Regions from separate parts of the Homo sapiens genome. Here all the other regions are linked to region 1. Evidence: promoter capture Hi-C in 16 types of primary human blood cells and fetal thymus (Javierre and others, 2016). All regions are on one chromosome and are shown on one strand. Each heading gives the region's core, a stretch centred on a gene start or on the middle of the fragment in contact. The rest is flanking DNA. Distances are from core to core; before and after follow the strand shown.

The links. Contacts are between HindIII fragments. The CHiCAGO score rates a contact against its expected background, and 5 or more counts as called.
Region 2: a fragment that was not itself captured here is called in contact with the fragment with the promoter of GPR160 in region 1 in 2 of 17 cell types (total B cells and naive B cells); the score reaches 7.1 in total B cells.
Region 3: a contact is called between a fragment that was not itself captured here and the fragment with the promoter of GPR160 in region 1, in 7 of 17 cell types (total B cells, naive B cells, naive CD8 T cells and 4 more). The highest score is 12.4, in total B cells.
Region 4: a contact is called between a fragment that was not itself captured here and the fragment with the promoter of GPR160 in region 1, in 11 of 17 cell types (total B cells, naive B cells, erythroblasts and 8 more). The highest score is 13.1, in total B cells.
Region 5: a contact is called between a fragment that was not itself captured here and the fragment with the promoter of GPR160 in region 1, in 1 of 17 cell types (neutrophils). The highest score is 6.3, in neutrophils.
Region 6: a fragment that was not itself captured here is called in contact with the fragment with the promoter of GPR160 in region 1 in 6 of 17 cell types (neutrophils, total B cells, naive B cells and 3 more); the score reaches 8.1 in neutrophils.
Region 7: a contact is called between a fragment that was not itself captured here and the fragment with the promoter of GPR160 in region 1, in 1 of 17 cell types (total B cells). The highest score is 6.8, in total B cells.

The regions. Positions count from the first base shown.
Region 1 is chr3:170,036,676-170,039,343 of GRCh38, reverse strand. It overlaps GPR160 (G protein-coupled receptor 160), which reads right to left and starts at 1,349. Exons shown (of 4, transcript NM_014373.3): 1 at 1,129-1,349; 2 at 301-429. RefSeq lists silencers at 325-374, 535-584, 895-1,374 and an enhancer at 1-469. The HindIII fragment of the contact is 12,490 bases long and covers 1-2,668 here.
Region 2 is chr3:169,792,714-169,795,381 of GRCh38, reverse strand. LRRC34 (leucine rich repeat containing 34) reads left to right here. Exons shown (of 11, transcript NM_001172779.2): 11 at 1,544-2,379. The coding sequence ends at 1,747. Among named protein-coding and RNA genes, the nearest start is that of LRRIQ4, 19 kb to the left of the region's middle. RefSeq lists a cis regulatory region at 1,025 and an enhancer at 953-1,097. The HindIII fragment of the contact is 5,168 bases long and covers 1-2,668 here.
Region 3 is chr3:169,809,214-169,811,881 of GRCh38, reverse strand. All of the region lies in intron 1 of LRRC34 (leucine rich repeat containing 34), which reads left to right. Among named protein-coding and RNA genes, the nearest start is that of LRRIQ4, 2.3 kb to the left of the region's middle. The HindIII fragment of the contact is 228 bases long and covers 1,137-1,364 here.
Region 4 is chr3:169,825,394-169,828,061 of GRCh38, reverse strand. The region is part of intron 2 of LRRIQ4 (leucine rich repeats and IQ motif containing 4); the gene reads right to left. Among named protein-coding and RNA genes, the nearest start is that of LRRC34, 14 kb to the right of the region's middle. The HindIII fragment of the contact is 169 bases long and covers 1,259-1,427 here.
Region 5 is chr3:170,191,460-170,194,127 of GRCh38, reverse strand. No RefSeq gene overlaps it. Among named protein-coding and RNA genes, the nearest start is that of PHC3, 11 kb to the right of the region's middle. The HindIII fragment of the contact is 3,214 bases long and covers 1-2,668 here.
Region 6 is chr3:170,170,870-170,173,537 of GRCh38, reverse strand. It overlaps PHC3 (polyhomeotic homolog 3), which reads left to right. Exons shown (of 15, transcript NM_024947.4): 3 at 826-981; 4 at 2,088-2,165. Among named protein-coding and RNA genes, the nearest start is that of PHC3, 9.5 kb to the left of the region's middle. The HindIII fragment of the contact is 1,241 bases long and covers 706-1,946 here.
Region 7 is chr3:169,908,404-169,911,071 of GRCh38, reverse strand. No RefSeq gene overlaps it. Among named protein-coding and RNA genes, the nearest start is that of SAMD7, 1.8 kb to the left of the region's middle. The HindIII fragment of the contact is 3,064 bases long and covers 1-2,668 here.

The sequences.
Region 1 (2,668 bases), core at 100-2,599:
TCGTTTTGAAACTGCACACAGGTCCTCCTCCCTGCAATTCGCATAGCAACCAAGCTGATCCTCACTGACAATTTCCAAATAACTATAATAACTCTATTCTGGAGATATCACAAGTGCCGGTCTTAGAGCTTGTCAAATGTATACATATATGTTTATATTTATATATAAATGCACAAAAGCACACAAGAAACCATTTCACTCGAAGCAATAACAATCCTGAGAGCTAAACACTCGTTCATGTCTTTTGTGATGCTTCTCGGTGGGGGTTATCTCTGGGATTTAAGCGACACTTCCCCTTACCGGAGACATTTGCGCAAGTGTAGGACGAAGCGAGAGCGGTTCCTTCCAGCCGAACCTGCCTCCGGAGGCCCGGTCCGTGCGTTCGTCTCCGGACTGCAGGGGGCGGCCCTGCCACCACCTCGAGGCCACCTGCGCAGGTGAGAAAAGGAGTTTCAGTCTCCGGGTTCCTGGGGGTGGTCGCAGGTAATCTAGAGGGAATTTTGAGCCAGCCAGGATGGTCATCCAGGAACCTACCCGGACGCAACGGCCTCGGAAAACAAATAGCCGGGCAAGGCCCTGGGGCTTAATCCCAGTGGCGGGCGCGGGCGGGGGCGCCGTCCCCAACGCTCGAGGCCAGGGGAGGGGAGGCAAAGTCGGCCCCAATGAATGCACGCACGCGCGCGCGCGCGCGTGTGTGTGAGACTATTCACCTCTGGGCGCCAGGAAAGAGCGAAGAGTTGCATACACCCATTTCTATAACCTTGCTGGGTTTGTCATGTTTAAAAAGCATCTCCCCTGGAGAGAGGGTGGCGAGTCTCTGGGTGCGGGACACGCCCATTCCCCAGACCCCCTGCCCTCAAACCCACGACAGACCCCAGTTGCTAAGGCTCCGCGGTAATCCCCATCCCGAAGCAGGAAGGCTCGGGCGTCCGGGCTCCACTCCTGGATCTCTTAAGTAGCAGAGAACCCCCAGCCCCTGAGTTCCTGCAAAGGAAATTCCTTCCCCTCCCAGGCGCGCTGAACGCCCGGCCAGGGAGGCTGGGAGCGGCGCGGGGACCGTTCGCCGCCCCGAGGCTGGGACGCCGGTGGCGAGAGCGCCGGGCGCCCTCCACCTGCGCCCGCACTCACCCGAGGATCGATGGCTGTCGGCTCCGCAAGGTTGAGGCCCCGACACCTGCAGCGCCCGTGCCCAGGTGACCGCCCGAGGGAGGGGCGAGGGCCCAGCTCGCCCGCCTGGTCCCGCCCCGCCCCGCCCCGCCCCGCGCGCTCCCGGGAGGGGCAGGGGAGCACGGCCCCGGGACCCCGCGGCGACCCTGCTGTGGCTCAGCCGGCTCCAGACCAGGAAATGCGGGCGTCAGAGACGGGCAACCTTTGAGCGCGCACGTCCCGTCCGGGCCCAACGAAACAAGGGCCGGAGGGCGCCGCCTGCCGGCGGGACGGAAAGATATCACAGAGACTGTCACCCCCCGCCGGCTAGGAGAGGGCTGAGTTGAGGCTGGCAGAGGGACGCAGCCAGGGGTGCGCAGTGCGGGAGCCGCTTGGGGGCTCAGTGAGACCCCCTTCCTCATGCCACATCTTGAGGACCCGGCCCCTGTCCTAGGAGCTCCCCATCTCCCCAGCAGGCGGGCGAGCGGGGGCCACTGGGTCAGGGCCTCTCCTTCCCTTACCTCTGCAAATGTAAACTTGGCAGTTGTCTCCAGATAAGAGTTTACACAGGGTGGCCAGGCGGTGGCTCATGCCTGTAATCCTAGCACTTTGGGAGGTCAAGGTGGGCGGATCACTTGAGGTCAGGAGTTTGAGACCAGCCTGGCCAACATGGTCCACGTTGGTCCCCATGTCTACTAAAAATACAAAAATTAGCCGGGCTTGGTGGCACGCACCTGTAATCCCAGCTATTTGGGAAGCTGAGGCACGAGAATCGCTTGAACCCAGGAGGCGGAGGTTGCAGTGAGCTAAGACCGCACCACTGCACTCCAGCCTGGGCAGCAACAGCAAGACTCCGTATCAAAAAAAAAAAAAAAAAAAAAAAAAAAAAAAAAAAAGAGTATACACAGGGTGACAGAACTTCTTGAAACTTGTATGCTTCTAAGCAACCGCCTGCAGTGTACTGTGAATTCAGATTTTTAAATAAAAATCTGCAAATATTAAATAGCCCATATATTGCATTGCCTTTTTTGTGTCAACAGTGCTAATTTGTTGTCATTCAACAAATATTTGTTGAGCACCTACGACTTGCCGGTCATTTAAACATTTAAAATATCGAACAATTAGGCCAGCGCAGTGGCTCAAGCCTGTAATCCCAGCACTTTGGGAGGCCGAGGCGGGTGGATCACTTGAGGTCACGAGTTCAAGACCAGCCTGGCCAACATGGTGAAACCCTGCCTCTACTAAAAATACAAAAATTAGTTGGGCGTAATGGCACATGCCTGTAGTCCCAGCTACTTGGGAGGCTGAGGCAGGAGAATGACTTGAACCCAGGAGGCAGAGGTTGCAGTGAACCAAGATCACGCCATTACACTCCAGCCTGGGCAACAGAGACAGACTTCATCTGAAACAAATAAAATAAAATAAAATATTGCACAATTTCTTCCTTCTCCTCTTCACGCAGAGCCTTGAACAAGGGGAGTGTCCTGAGCCTCTCAACCTCTCTGAGTGTCATAGCAGTTAG
Region 2 (2,668 bases), core at 117-2,616, 240 kb after region 1:
ACTGCAGTTTTGATAATTAACATAAGTCTTAAAATTAACTACTAGAGAGTTTGGTGGTTCAAATAACCAAAGATATTAAAACTATGTATTAGTATTACACATCACTGAATGACACAGTTCTAATTCCTCTAAGGTTAAGAAAAATCATAATTATTGATCAGATGTAGCAAAATTTCTGATCTGCTCCCTAATAATTATACCAAAATATGGAATGGGAGAGATAGAGTACAAGCTATCAAAATATTTGGCATGTTGCTCACATAAATACAGACAGCCTTTGATACTACTTTCAAAACAGAAATAATGGTAACAGTTTTCATTTGGAAAGAACGAGGGGGAAAAAGTAGATGTTAAAATTCTCAAAATTTGCAAAAGGACTAACAAAAATTCCACCACTAAAAAGAGTAATAAAACATAGAGTGTTGTCTAAACCACCCTCCCAAAAAAACCAACCCTTACTTTTAGAAAAACATCCATAATTCTTTAGGTTCTACACATCAGTAGCTGAATAAGTTGAGTCTGGAACTGGAACTAATGATGAATGACAAGCTAAAGCAAAAACCAACTTGACTTTTAAATCTTTTAATGTCTAAATTTCCATCTTTCTCCATATTGCCAACCTTACTGACAAACCAGTTCAACGTATTTGTATGACTCTGTTACATAGATACTAAGGATCGTGGCTCATGCCTGTAATCCCAGCACTTTGGGAGGCTAAGGCGGGGGGATCACGAGGTCAAGAGATTGAGACCATCCTGGCCAACATGGTGAAACCCCATCTCTACTAAAAGTACAAAAATTAGCTGGGTGTGGTGGTGCGCTGGGCCTGTAGTCCCAGCTATTCGGGAGGCTGAGGCAGGAGAATCTCTTGAACCCAGGAGGCAGGGGTTGCAGTGAGCCGAGATCGTGCCACTGCACTCCAGCTTGGCGACAGAGCAAGACTCTGTCTCAAAAAAAAAAAAAAAGTATAAAAATTCTACAATGAAGAAATAATTAATAGGTCCGCATCCAATACTATGGAATTGTCTGTTTTAGCCTAAATCTGTAGATTAGATTCAGGGGGGTCATGAACTCTATATAATTGTATGTCCAAATCTGGGATTCCCTTAATTTTTCTGAGGAATGGGTAACTAGCTATCAGCAGATTTTTGAGAATGTATACAATAGGCCTCCTACCGAGCCCCCCTACCTATTCCAATTTATGAACATCTGTGGGACTTGAAAATTTTGACCATAGGAGCTTTGGTCCACAAAATTGGTAGTATAGAAAATCAACTCTAGGAGTCACAAAATGACAAAACATGTCTAATACATTAAAAGTTAGAAATAAGTTTTGCAATATTATAATTTCATTCTGTGTAATTAAATGAATAAAAATCTATTTACAATACCTGGAAAATATTAAAATTCAGCAATGTTATTCAGAATATTTTATTTTAAACTACAAATTAGCACAGCTAATTTGAATATTTAAATTTCCGTAAGCACTGTAAATTGAATACATTTTTTCTTAATGATATAGTTTTTTTCCTAAAAATCCTAGGCATATTCAGACTTAATTCAAATGGGTTGTCTAAAACCAGACAATACAGATGTGGAGCCATTTGTGGTAGATGGACGTGTATATCTTGCAGAAGTCTCCAATGGCCTTAAAAAGCATTATTATTGGACATCAACTTATGGAGAATCTTATGACCACTCATCTAATGCAGGTTTTGCTCTTGTTCCAGTAGGTCAACAGCCATGAAAAAGTAGCTGTAAAATAATTTTCATACACTTGTCTTATTGTTTCACAGAGATTAATATTCTATAGCCTATTTTCTTTTATAAATTAAAACAAGTTACTTTTTTCAAATGTGTAAAAGATAATGACTGTATTAAACTTTGTATAACTGTCTATTGTGAAAAACTGAGTAGGGTAATTTTTTAAAAGAAATTTTACAATATAGAGACTAAAATTCTAACCCTGGAGAAAGAGACCAAGGAACTAGACTAAATTTCTTTTTATAATGAAAATATAACCAAGTAGTGAAATAGCGTACAAGTAAAGGTCATTGTAGGTATCTAACTGAAAGTTATTAAGTAGTATTAATAAAAAGGTTTGTGGTAGAAAATTACCAGTGACTTTCAAAGGGTTTCAAAGTTCAGAAGTTGAAAAAGTATTCTACCTATCCTATTTACGTGTTACAGACAGGTGTTACTAACAATTTCATAAATACAGGCAAATATATATAAACATATACATACCCCTTTCCCAACAAGCCAGTGCTGCCAGCTCTCCCACTCTCCTCTCATAACCACTATCCTGACTTCTAACCCCACAGAGTAGTTTTGCCTGTTCTTGACCTTTATATAAATGGAAGCATACAGTATACACTCTCTTTGTGTCTGGCTTCTTTTGTTCAACATTATATTAGTATGATTCATTTATGTTGTTTCATGTAGCAGTAGTCTGTTCACTTTTCATTGCTTTGTAGTATTCCTCACATGCTGGGTAGTAGGATGTCTACCAGATTCTGGAAAGAGTTTGATTTCCCAGGCTACTGTCTCTTCCTGTGTGCTATAGAAGAGACCCACAAGTTCCCATATTCCCCCAAAGGGAGATTCAGAAGATGGCTGAAGGAGAAGCAAGTAGGCTTACCTTGAGCTTACAGTGGGGTGCAGGTGG
Region 3 (2,668 bases), core at 1-2,500, 230 kb after region 1:
CTGTTTGTGGATACGGAACTGTGTTCGGAGGCTGGCTTAATAATACTGCATCCAGGAGATGGGCAGTGTTAGGCTCTGCCTTTAGCATGAGAGGAAATTTAAGCTGGCATAACAACTTGTTCAAATGTACACACTGCGGATTCTGGATAGGGCACCCACGTTCTGACTCATGCTTATCGCTTAGATTTCCCAGTGCTTGGCTAAGTATAGAAAAGCATGTTTTGGAGGGATCTACCTCCTAAGTAAGTCCTCTCTCTGGAAATTGTTAAAACGTGGCTGCCAGAGGCGTGGATGAAAAAATGAAATTTGGGTTAGGTTCTTGACATTTTCCTGCGTAGCTGGGTTATTTCCTAGTTTTTGCTTTACAATTTGAAGGCTATTTTCCTTCTAATATGAATACAATATAGGAAATAAATTCATTGGTGCCACAAAATCCTGGCATACAAAATACGTAGGTGAATTTTAAATCAAAGGAAGGGTAGCAGAAACTTTTAAATACTGTAAATCTCTGGCTAGCTTGTTAAATAAGAATATTTCCATAACTTTGTTTAGCTGTATTTAGCTCGTAGTCTAAGATTCCTTCATGCCTTCGCGAAAATGAATTGTAGTCTGACACATTTCTGTGCCCTCGGAGATTCTCAGGGCAATTTTTCTCTTAATACCAAGGAAGACAGTAGGGAAGAAAGAAGCCCAGTGGGAGCCCAGCTCCAACTTCTATTTGGGATCTACTTGCTTTGTTTCCTGGGGAGGACGCTAAAGCAGCATTTTCTAGATTGCATTCCAAGTGAGGTTTTTGTTTTGTTTTGTTTTTGAGATGGAGTCTCCTCTGTCGCCCAGGCTGGAGTGCAGTGGCGCGATCTCTGCCCACTGCAACCTTGTAACCTCCACCTCCCGCATTCAAGCGATTCTGTCGCCTCAGCCTCCGAAGTAGCTGGGACTACAGGCATGCGCCACCACACCAGCTAATTTTTGTATTTTTGGTAGAGATAGGGTTTCACCATATTGGCCAGGCTGGTCTCGAACTCCTGGCCTCAAGTGATCCGCTCGCCTCGGCCTCCCAAAGTGCTGGGATTACAGGCGTAAGCCACCGCACCCGGCCGGAAATGCAGCATTCTTATCCTCCCTATTCTCAAGCTTAACAGTTTGCAGAGTGTGCACGTTTTAAATGCCCTGAGAAGTGTTGTGTCTGTGTATAGTTTTGTTTATTTTAGTACTTCTCAGACTTACTTGATAATAAGACCTATTCTATTTGGAACACCTTTGATCATCCTGTAGAACATGCATATTCCACAAAATACAGTTTGGGAAATATTGTGCTACAATATCATTTAAATACATGAAAATTTTCTAAAATAGGTGAAGCTTTTTTTAATACGTACATCTATCCACATGACAGAAATTATGCTATTTAAATTTTTCAGAGAATATCTAGTGACATGGGAAAACTGCTTACAATATAATGTTAATTTAAAAAACAGCATATAAAGTTATATCCAAAGATTCCAATTTTGTTTAAAAAATACTTAATATGCATATAAAAGAAAAACTATAGGAAGTATGTATGCCTAGACCTCAATTGTGGTTGTTCTTTGGCAGTGGGATTGCAGATTAACATGTATTTTTTTTTAATGTTAGAAATTTCCGGTCGGGCTCAGTGGCTCACCTGTAATCCCAGCACTTTGGGAGGCTGAGGCAGGCTGATCACTTGAGGTCAGGAGTTTGAGACCAGCCTGGCCAACATGGTGAAACCCCGTCTTTATAGCTGGGTGTGGTGGTGTGTGCCTGTAGTCCCAGCTACTCGGGAGGCTGAGGCAGGAGAATCGCTTGAACCCGGGAGGCAGAGGTTGCAGTGAGCCGAGATTGCGCTCCTGCTCTCCAGCTTGGGTGGCAGATCAAGAACCTATCTCAAAAAAAAAAAAAAAAGAAATTTCCAAATTGTCTGGAATAAGTATATTAAATTTATTTTTAAAAAGGTTATTAAAAACTATAAGAAAATTTTGTTTGCTTTCATCTGAAATGTAATGTTCCTCATGTTAAATCTCGTTCTGCAGATCCGTTTAGCAAACTCATTATTCTTCAGAGTGCAAAGGACACTCAGTAAACAACATTTCTGAGATGTAGAGACTTAGAAGAGAAGCCAGCTCCTAAAAAGCTAGGCTGGTTGAGCAATGAGATCTCTGTGCACAAATTTTTAAAAGACATCCACAAAAGGTAGATGTATAGAAAACAAAGACAGTGGCCTGTACTTCTAAGAAAAGTAACAGCATAACTTCCACCCCAGAAGATGTAGGCCTTGCAGAAGATGCTTTTGAGGTATTACTGAGAACAGCAAGGTCATTAAGGAAATCTGCATGTATAACAGAAAGGAGATCTCAACTCCTGCTTTGTGTCTGTCTTCTTAAGAACTTAGGGAAAAGTCACCTTTAGAAAGAGGAAATGGAAGGCTGGGTAGGAGAAGAGCTTCTGTGAGCCAGGCCTCGATTTGGTATGAAGAAATGACAGTTACATTCAAACTTGGGATGGTGTAGAGGGTATCCAAGAAGCTTGTGGGAGTAGGTGCTTTATCAGATCCCTTTTGAGTTAGGTTATTAGATAAAATTGTTTTTATGTGAAGCTATTTTAAGAAACCTTTTCCTCTCGTGGATGCTGAGATACTGAGTTGAAAAAA
Region 4 (2,668 bases), core at 94-2,593, 210 kb after region 1:
TTTAATAATTTTGAAACTTCAGTTGAAATCTCAGTTGGAGGCAAACATATATTCACACCATTTCTAATCAGTGTTCAGTGAACTCCATTATGATCCTATCGTGTCATGTTCTGCTTTTCAGTGAATACCCAGGCTTGTGTAACCTGTGTGGGAACTGGGTCGGCATTTCACAGAGTGCCACACTTTCAGGGCTGGAACGCCTTAAGAAGGTTCTCTATTTCAACCTTCTAATACAGTGCTTGCATACTTTTTATAGCGAGCCATCCAGTTTTATCTAAACACCACCTCCTGTGAAGAAAAGCTCATTATCTTCTATGGCTACTTCTAATCATCAGATTTCCTACTTTAGTACAGCCAAAATCAGCTTCACCATTATGTCCGTCTATCGGTTTCTTTCTGGACCATGGGAGACCACATGGGAAAAAAATCTCTTTTTTTTTTTTTTTTTTTTTTTTGAGACGGAGTCTCGCTCTGCCGCCCAGGCTGGAGTGCAGTGGCGCGATCTCGGCTCACTGCAAGCTCCGCTTCCCGGGTTCACGCCATTCTCCTGCCTCAGCCTCCCGAGTAGCTGGGACTACAGGCGCCCACCACCACGCCCGGCTAATTTTTTGTATTTTTAGTAGAGACGGGGTTTCACCATGTCAGCCAGGATGGTCTCGATCTCCTGACCTCGTGGTCCGCCCGCCTAGGCCTCCCAAAGTGCTGAGATTACAGGCATGAGCCACCGCACCCGGCGAAAAAATCTCATTCTTAAAATATGTGACAATCACCCTATTGACTGTGTTACAGAGATGCCTTATTTTCTCGTAGAAAAAAATCCCAGCTATATAGCTCAACAGCTCCTTAACTCATATGTTCCTTTATCTGGCTTAATTCCTAACTGGGAAATCCTTCCCCACAGTTCCCTGCTTGAGCCCATGGGCATTCTTCCCATCCATTCCCTAGTCAGCCACCCTACTTTCATTCTGGCTAGAGCTCAGCTGAGCCACTCCCACCCCCACCTCTCTATGGATGGGTGGAATAGACAGGTAATTGGTGAATGGGTCACTTACAGTTGGAGAAAAAGAAAGTTCACTGAGGACAACCTATCTGTAAAAGTTTCACATACTTGGAATCTTCCATAATGCATTTTTCTCTTTTTTGTGTAGAGTAAGGACTCATTTTCCTAAAAATGCTGTAACAGTTTTCCAGTTTTATTTATTTACCTATTTATTTTAATTAGATGAAGTCAATCTTTGGAGAAACTGATGTTTAAGCTTTCCTCTTTGGCTATTTCAAAATTCTTCATCAAGCACTTAGATGTCTTCAATACAAAATGCCTGCATTCTGTGCAGTCCAAAACAATGAAAAAAGATTTTTCAATCTAACCATTTTATTATAACCTAGAAATTTCATTCTTATTGCTGTTCACTTAACTCATAAAAGCTTAGCTTTTCTTTTTCAAAGCACATTGAATGTTCAAAAATTTTTTTTAGGAGTATTTAAGATCCAGTAGTTAGTTTCATCATAGTCATAGTAAAGTATAATGAGAAGAAATCTAGATGTATAGAAAATCTGTAGAGCATTAGATGAGGACAATTACTGATGACACTGTAACTGACATATAGCCATTTTGGGATCTGGTACATTGTTTTGGTTTTTTCCTTTTTCTTTTTCTTTTTTTTTTTTTGAGGCGGAGTTTCACTCTTCTTGCCTCGGCTGGACGGCAATGGTACAATCTTGGCTCATTGCAACCTCTGCCTCCTGGGTTCAAGCGATTCTCCTGCCTCAACCTCCCGAGTAGCTGGGATTACAGGTGCCCACTACCATGCCCGGCTAATTTTTGTATTTTTAGTAGAGATGGGGTTTCGCCACGTTGGCCAGGCTGGTCTCAAACTCCTGACCTCAGTTGATCCACTCGCCTCATCCTCCCAAAGTGTTGTGATTACAGGCGTGAGTCACCGCACGTGGCCTGCTTTTCTCCTTTAATAGAAGTATACTCTACAAATAAAATCCATCTAGGTACACATTGAAAATCAGATATTTTTTGCATGCACACAGGCAAGTAGAAGCTACTGGTTAGGCTTTAAGAGCTAGTAACCCATGAGTTGAGTCTTTGGGGAGGGAGAGATAATGAGCTGGCTTAAAGGCCATGTTTCATTGAGGAGAGAAATGCATTGGAAGGTGGTATTAGCATAAGAGGAAATTGAGAAGGGAGGACAAATGCACACACACACACAAAACCCATCAGAATAACTGAAGAGGAAAAAGCACTGGTACACAGAGATTGTCATGTTCAATACAATAATATTTAACATGTCTACATTTCAGTGCAGTTTGACTTGTGCTAAAACTTGGTATTGGATGAAGCTTATTTTTGTTAACAAGCAGTCTGTGTGTGATTTGCTCCTTTGATTTCTTAAAATTTCTCTCAGAAAAGGATTAGGTATTATTCATGGCTCAGTATAATGTGTTATCCCTCCCACATGTACTTTATATTTTAAGTCTTTCACTCCAACTGCAGAATGACTGACTTAGTCCACTAAAAGGAATTTCTTACATCAGCAGTGGAATAGTTCAGGGCCGGGCTCTCACGGAACCTCAAAAATCCTCCAAGGTGAGTTGCTACATCAGTGGAGATTAAGTCCTAGAATCTCGACCTAAATCTACAAGTTACCATCAAAATGTT
Region 5 (2,668 bases), core at 48-2,547, 150 kb before region 1:
AGAAGAATGTTTATCCTGCAGTTCTCTGGTAGAATGTTCTGTAAATATCCGTTAGGTCCATTTGTTCTAGAGTGTAGTTTTAAATCCATTTTTTTCTTTGCCGACTTTCTGTCTTGATGATCTGTCTAATGCTGCGAGTGGAGTGTTGAAGTGCCCCACTATCATTGTGTTGCTGTCTATCTCATTTCTTAGGTCCAGTAGTAAATGTTTTATGAATCTTAGAGCTCCAGTATTGGTACATATGAATTTAGGATTGTAATATCTTCTTGTTGGATTGATCCTTTTATCATTATATAATTATCTTCTTTGTCCTTTTTTTTTTTTTTTTTACTGTTGTTGCTATTTACTTATTTATTTATTGAGACAGGGTCTGGCTTTATTGCTCAGGCAGGAGTAGAGTGGGATGATCACAGCTCACTGCAGCCTGAACCTACGACACACAAGTGATTGTCCCACTTCAGCCTCCTCATTAGCTGGGATTGCAGGCACACACCACCACACCAGGCTAATTTTTAAATTTTTTCATAGAGACAGGGTCTTGCTGTGTTGCCTAGGCTGGTCTTGAACTCCTGGGTTCAAGGGATCCTCCTGCCTCAGCCTCCCAAAGGGCTGAGATTGCAGGTGTGAACTGCCACACCTGGCTGTTGTTGCTTTAAAGTCTATCTTATCTGATAGAAGAATAGCTACTCCTGCTTGCTTTGGGTTTCCATTTGCATGGAATATCTTTATCCACTCCTTTACCTTGAGTTTATCTGAATCTTTATGTGTTATATAAGTCCCTTGAAGACAACAGATATTTGGTTTGCAATTTTTAGACCCATTCTGCCAATCTGTATCTTTTAAGTGAAGCATTTAGGCTGTTTACATTCAACATTAATATTGAGATTTGAGGCTGGGTATGGTGGTGGCTCACACCTATAATGCTAGCACTTTGGGAAGCTGAGGTGGAAGAATTACTTGAGCCCAGGAATTCCAGAGCAGCCTGGGCAACATGGCGAAACCCCATCTCTACAAAAAATACACACACACACACACACACACACACACACACACACAAACTTAACTGGGTGTGATGGTGCACACCTATAGTCCCAGCTACTCAGGAGGCTGAGGTGGGAAGCCCACTTGAGCCCAGGAGGTGGAGGTTACAGTGAGCCAAGATTGTACCACTGCACTCCAGCCCAGGTGACAGAGCAAGACCCTGTCCCCTCCCTGCAAAAAACAAAAAAACCCAAAAAGGCCATGCCTGCAATCCCAGCACTTTGGGAGGCTGAGGCGGGCAGATCACGAGGTCAAGAGATGGAGACCATCCTGGCCAACATGGGGAAACCCCGTCTCCACTAAAAATACAAAAATTAGCTGAGCATGGTGGCAGGCACCTGTAATCCAAGCTACTCGGGAGGCTGAGGCAGAAAATTGCTTGAACCAGGGAGTCAGAGGTTGCGGTAAGCCGAGATTGTGCCAATGTACTCTAGCCTGGCGCCAGAGTGAGACTCCATCTCAAAAAAAAAAAGAGAGATGTGAGGTACTGTTCCAGTCATCATGTTATTTGTTACCTAGATACTTTGTTTTATTCACTGTGTTATTGTTTTATATGCCCCATGAGTTTTATGCCATCAAGAGGTTCTACTCTAGTGCATATCAGCCTTTTGTTTCAGGATTTAGAACAGCTTTTAGCATTTCTTGTTGGGCTGGTCTGGTAGTGACAAGTTCCCTAAGCATTTGTTTGTCTGAAAATGATTTTATTTCTCCTTTATTTATGAAACTTAGTTTTGCTACATACAAAATCGTTGGCTAGGTTGGGCGTGGTGGCTCATGCCTGTAATCCTAGCACTTTGGGAGGCCAAGATGGGAGATGACTTGAGCTCAGGAGTTCAAGAGCAGCCTGGGCAGCATGGTGAAGCCCCATCTGTACAAAAAATACAAAAATTAGCCATGTGTGGTGGGATGCACTGAAGTGGGAGGGTCACCTGAGCCCAGGGAGGTTGAGGTTGCAGTGAGCCATGATCGTGCCATTCCACTCCAGCCTGGGCAAGAGAGTGAGACCCTGCCTTAAAAAAAAATTCTTAATGGGCCGGGCTTGGTGGCCCATGCCTGTAATCCCAGCACTTTGGGAGGCCGAGGTGGGTGGATCACAAGGTCAGGAGATCGAGAACATCCTGGCTAATACGGTGAAACCCCGTCTCTACTAAAAATACAAATATTAGCTGGGTGTGGTGGCGGGTGCCTGTAGTCCCAGTTACTGGGGAGGCTGAGGCAGGAGAATGGCGTGAACCCAGGAGGTGGAGCTTGCAGTGAGCCGAGATGGTGCCACTGCACTCCAGCCTGGGTGACAAAGCAAGACTCCCTCTCAAAAAAAAATTCTTGCTGGGCGTGGTGGCTCACGCCTGTAATCCCAACACTTTGGGAGGCTGAGGTGGGTGGATCATGAGGTCAGGAGTTCGAGACCAGTCTGGTCAACATAGTGAAATCCCGCCTCTACTAAAAATACAAAATTAGCAGGGCATGGTGGTGCATGCCTGTAATCCCAGCTACTTTTGAGGCTGAGGCAAGATAATCACATGAACCCAGGAGGCAGAGGTTGCAGTGAGCCGAGATCGTGCCACTGTACTCCAGCCTGGGCGACAGAGCGAGACTCTGTCTAAAATAATAATAATAATAATAATAA
Region 6 (2,668 bases), core at 77-2,576, 130 kb before region 1:
GACTAGTTGTTACTGTATAGGACAGCACTGATCTACATTACTATTTGTTATGGTTGCATGGTAAAGGTATTTCTCTCCACACCCAAGCCCTGAATTCTACGAAGTTTTATCCAAAAAGGTTATGCCAACTTGAATTTTTACTAGCAATATGGGAGTATTGGTTTCCCCAGGTAGTAGTAGTATTCTTTTAAATCTTTATCCATCTGAAAGTTGGAAAACAGTATCTTGTTTTAATTTGTAAGTTTTTGACTACTGGTGAGATTGAAAATCTTTTGAAATGCTTAGTTGGCCTGGCCTGTCTTTTGCGAATTGTCCACTGGGTTTTGTTTTGTTTTTTTTTTTTTGAGATGGGAGTCTTGCTGTGTCGCCCAGGCTGGAGTGCAGTGGCATGATCTTGGCTCAACTGCAGCCTTCACCTCACAGGTTCAAGCGATTCTCCTGCCTCAGCCTCCCGAGTAGCTGGGGCTACAGGCATGTGCCACCATGCCTGGCTAATTTTTTGTGTTTTTAGTAGAGACGGGGTTTCACCATGTTAGCCAGGATGGTCTTGATCTCCTGACCTTGTGATCCGCCCACCTCGGCCTCCCAAAGTGCTGGAATTAACAGGCGTGAGCCACCGTGCCCGGCCCACTGGGTAGTTTTAATGTGTACAAGTTAGTGATTTCTAGTGATATGTAACTAGGAAAGAAATAATGTTAATAAGCTTGATGATATTATGTATTAAAGCAGTGAAATTTTAAACTGCCACTTTTTTATACTTTGATTTTCTGATTAAGATAAAGGTTGAGATTATGGTTTGACATTGGTTCAATTGACTTATCACAGGTAATTCAACAGGCATTGCATCGGCCCCCCAGCTCAGCTGCTCAGTACCTTCAGCAAATGTATGCAGCCCAACAACAGCACTTGATGCTGCATACTGCAGCTCTTCAGCAGCAGCATTTAAGCAGCTCCCAGCTTCAGAGCCTTGCTGCTGTTCAGGTAAGACTAAAATAAGAGTTTATGAGATCAAAGTTTCTGTTATCTGTAGGTAGTTACTGAAAATAAATAGATTGGGTATTATTTCAGAGTTCTCAGATGTCCTGTGGTTATTTTTCCCGGAGGAAATATATTAATAGGTTGCCGAATAGAAGTTAATTGAGAAAAAGGGGATATGTTTTTTTATGTTACTCTGTTTCTAGCTTTTGTCTCAGTGCTTTTTATCCAGATTGAAGAAATGCTATGCTAGTTTATGTGTATAAAGTTCTAGGTACAACAGTGAGTACTTAGGCTTACATAAATTGTATTTTTACTAAAAATAAGATTAAAAAAATTATATAAGTAATTATACTCATTAAAAAATCAAACAATATTAAGTTGTTTATAAGAGATAAAGTAAAGCTGTTCCTTTTCCCTGTCTATCACTGTTTCCCGTTCTTCAAAGGTGGCCACAGTAACAATCTAATACATATTTCTCCAGAAATTTTTTATACAAAGATAGGTATATCCATTTTTCTAAAATCCAATCATATTATTCCTACTGATAACAGGATTTCATTATTAAATGCTTGTTTTTAAAAAAGATTTTTGTTACTATTGTACTATTTAAATAAAGCTGTGTAAGATTTAATCTTAAATCCCCTCACCAGAGGAGGATCTCAATTGACTGAACCTGAAAAAGGTTTATTTCTGTTACCAACAGATTCTCAGCTGTTGCTTCTTAGTAGTGTAATTTTTAAATAACATGTTTGTGATACAAGTTAGGAAACTGAAACCCACTCACTGGCTCTTGCTGTAGCTCTAATTTCTTTTTCATAACTCTGGAGTAGTGATTCCACTTTAAAGATGACAGAGACCCATAAAGTGAAACTGACAATAAAGTAGCTAATAAAATAAGATTAGTCTTTGGATCCCCTGTTTTCACCATTCAGCTTTTCCTTATTTAAAAAATCTGTTTAACCGAAGCTTAAGCCATGTTGACTATAAAATTAGTTGTTTCATACATAGGCCTTTTGACATTTATTGTTGTGGTTTTGTGTTATCATGGTACCAGAAAGTTCTTAACTTCAGGTTTTTACCGACATATTCTAAAAGTCTTACTATTTTAGGCAAGTTTGTCCAGTGGAAGACCATCTACATCTCCCACAGGAAGTGTCACACAGCAGTCAAGTATGTCCCAAACGTCTGTAAGTTCCCTAAATTTTTTTTTCCTGGATTTAAAATTTTAAAGAATTGTTTTCCAAAAGTAAACTGTTGTTATTTATGAAGCTGTTATTATAATTTGTTGCATGCTGTTTAAAGTAACAATTGCCCAGAAATAGAAATGATAAAATTCAAGAATTCAGAACTAATGTTAAACTTATGAAAATCTGAGTCTTAAAAAAATCTTTTTGTATTATTTCTTGTATATCCATTTGCACTGATCATGTTCAGATCTTATGTGGTTTCAGCTTTCTGTGTGTATTGAAAGCCTAAAATATACAATGCAGGGATATTGGCCATGAATTTACTGTGATATACAATAGTATGTCATGTCCTTGGTAGACATCTAAGCATTTCTAACTTTGTGCAATTCACATTTTAGAAATTATACTTTCAGCTTACATGAGTTATTTGGGTTCAATTTGCAAGTATCCATTCAAGATAGGGTAATTTATTTTGAGAAAGGAGTAAAAGAAAGCTGATTCGC
Region 7 (2,668 bases), core at 85-2,584, 130 kb after region 1:
ACAAAATAAGAATTGAATATAAGAAATTTAAGTTGTGTTTCAAGTAATGCTTTAGGCTTCCAGTTTGAAGGTAACCTGCTCCTTTGTTGACACACATTTTTATCATTGGCTGTTGAACTCATTATAAGAAATAGCATGTGGAACTGACTGTATTTATTCCAGGGTTATTGTTCATAAAGCAGTGGTCAACAGCAGGGACTTAGATGACCAACAGACTCAATAAGCCTCAGCACCACCACTCATTAGCTGTATGGCCTGGCCAAGTTACTGAACTTCTCTGAGCCTTAGTTTCCTCATCTCAGAAGAGCCCTTCTTGGGAAAGGGAAGGCAACAAGGTAGACAAAATGCTTGAATAGTTCTCACTAAACATTAGCCATTATGTTAGGTAACTATATTGCACAGAGTCCTCTGTTGAGGATCCATGGGAGGAATTTTTCTCAGCTTGTAGTACTAGGGACAATTGTTTTGTTGTTGTTATTGTTGTTGTTGTTGTTCTGAAAAATAAGGCCAAAATAAAACCTCAGGAATCACGTAACTAGTGTGTTGCATTCTTTGTGTTGGTTAGTAGGAAGTTCAGGACCTGCCTTTAGGCATGCATTTTATTATATTTTTATTTATTTATTTTTGAGACAAGTTCTTGCTCTGCCACCCAGGCTAGAGTGCAGTGGCACAATCATGGCTCACTGTAGCCTCTATGTCCCCAGACTCAAGCAATCCTCCCACCGTAGCCTCCAAGTAGCTGGGACCACTGGTGCACGACCGCATGCCTGGCTAATTTTTTTTCTGTATTTTTTTGTAGAGACAGGCTTTCGCCATGTTGCCTAGGCTGGTCTTGAACTCCTGGACTCTAGCAATCCACCCACCTCGGCCTCCCAATGTACTGGGATTATAGGCGTGAGCCACCATGCCCAGCCTAGACATGCATTTTAAAACCAGAAATGATCTATGGCTTCATCTTATTTTTCCTAACATTATTTTCCCTTTGCCCTAATTTTTACTAAACTGTCTTTCTTGTGTTGTATATGCATTTTGAAGTGTCTCATAAATTATTAGCATTTATAATATTTATGCATACAGTTTTTGTTTTTTTTTGTTGTTGTTGTTTGTTTGTTTTTTTGAGACAGAGTCTCACTCTGTCACCCAGGCTGGAGTGCTGTGGCGTGATCTCAGCTCACTGCAAGCTCCACCTCCCGGGTTCACGCCATTCTCCTGCCTCAGCCTCCTGAGTAGCTGGGACTACAGGCGCCCGCCACCATGCCCAGCTAATTTTTTTTTTTTTGTATTTTTAGTAGAGACGGGGTTTCACCGTGTTAGCCAGAATGGTCTCGATCTCCTAACCTTGTGATCTGCCCACCTCAGCCTCCCAAAGTGCTGGGATTACAGGTGTGAGCCACTGCGCCCCGCCCTAATGCATATACTTTGTTTGTAATCACTCTGGTAGTCTCATATTAGAAGAGCTTGTATCTGAAAGACTTGCTTATACATTGTTCAACAGAAACTTATAAATGTATTGTTTTCATAGAAGCAACATCATAAGGAGTAATTAGGTTTGCACCAGCCCATAAACATCAATCTAACAGTGTAACAGCGGTACTCATTCCAACATAGAGCCACCATTTATATTTCTGTTTCTCTGGAAAATGTGATCAGTGTTATCAGTGGGGTTCATTAACGACATTTACTCCTGACTCAGCTCCGGTGAGTTCCCAAGACCCTCACTTGCGGTTGTTACTCCTCTTACTCCCCACACAAGCTCCTGCTATGATGGTGGGGCTGAGACTGTGTTAAAGAAGGAACTCTGGCAGGTGGAATGAGGTGAGTTAGAGGCTTCTAGAGTCTGAGGCTGATTGGAAGTGGGAGAGAAAAGGTAGGAACTTCCTTGTATTCAGTTAGTGCATACCAGTCTGGCTATGCCGATTGTTAAAATACTGACATTTTCCCACACCGGTTGGAAAATAGCCACTGCCCTGAGCCCCTAACTGCTCACCCACCCCAGTTGCTCCTGGACAACCTCTCCCCGCAGTGCAACATCTAAAGGGGTAGTTCCTAACGCAGCCGGGGGCAGGCAGCTCCTGCTTGGGCACCTCAGCCAGCCTCCGGTTGCAAACAAACCAGTCAGTTCTGGAGGTGATTACCCACTAAATGAGAGGGATCACAGTGCGGAGGAGTGGGAGGGCCCACAGGTCTCTGGCTATTTTGGGACTAATTGGAAGAAGCTCCACCGGAAGAGAGGAACAGGTGACAATAAGCCACCAGCAATGGCCTTGGGGATTATTTGTTAGTCATTCAGGAGTGTTGTAAATTTGCGCCCTACACTCTGTACAAAGAAAAGCCTTTTTACTTTCCTGCAATTGATCTAGTATCCCTCCAAAATCCTACTCTCTGGGTAAGAGGTGAAGACTACATTTAGTCAAATCTGGTCAATTCCAACTTATTCAACAATATAAGGAGACAATGTTTCACATGTAACATAGTCTCTTCCAAGATGAAATTGTCTCTTTTGGATTTTTAATTCATCTCCCTTTCTTCCCCAAGATGACACGTGAGATGACACGTGTCCTGGCGATGGGAAAGTGGAGGATGGGGTATCAGAGAGTGTTGAGGGCCCATGTACTGCCCTTTGAGTCTCCTGATGCTGCCTCAGGCTGGAGGCTCTGGCTTTAGACAC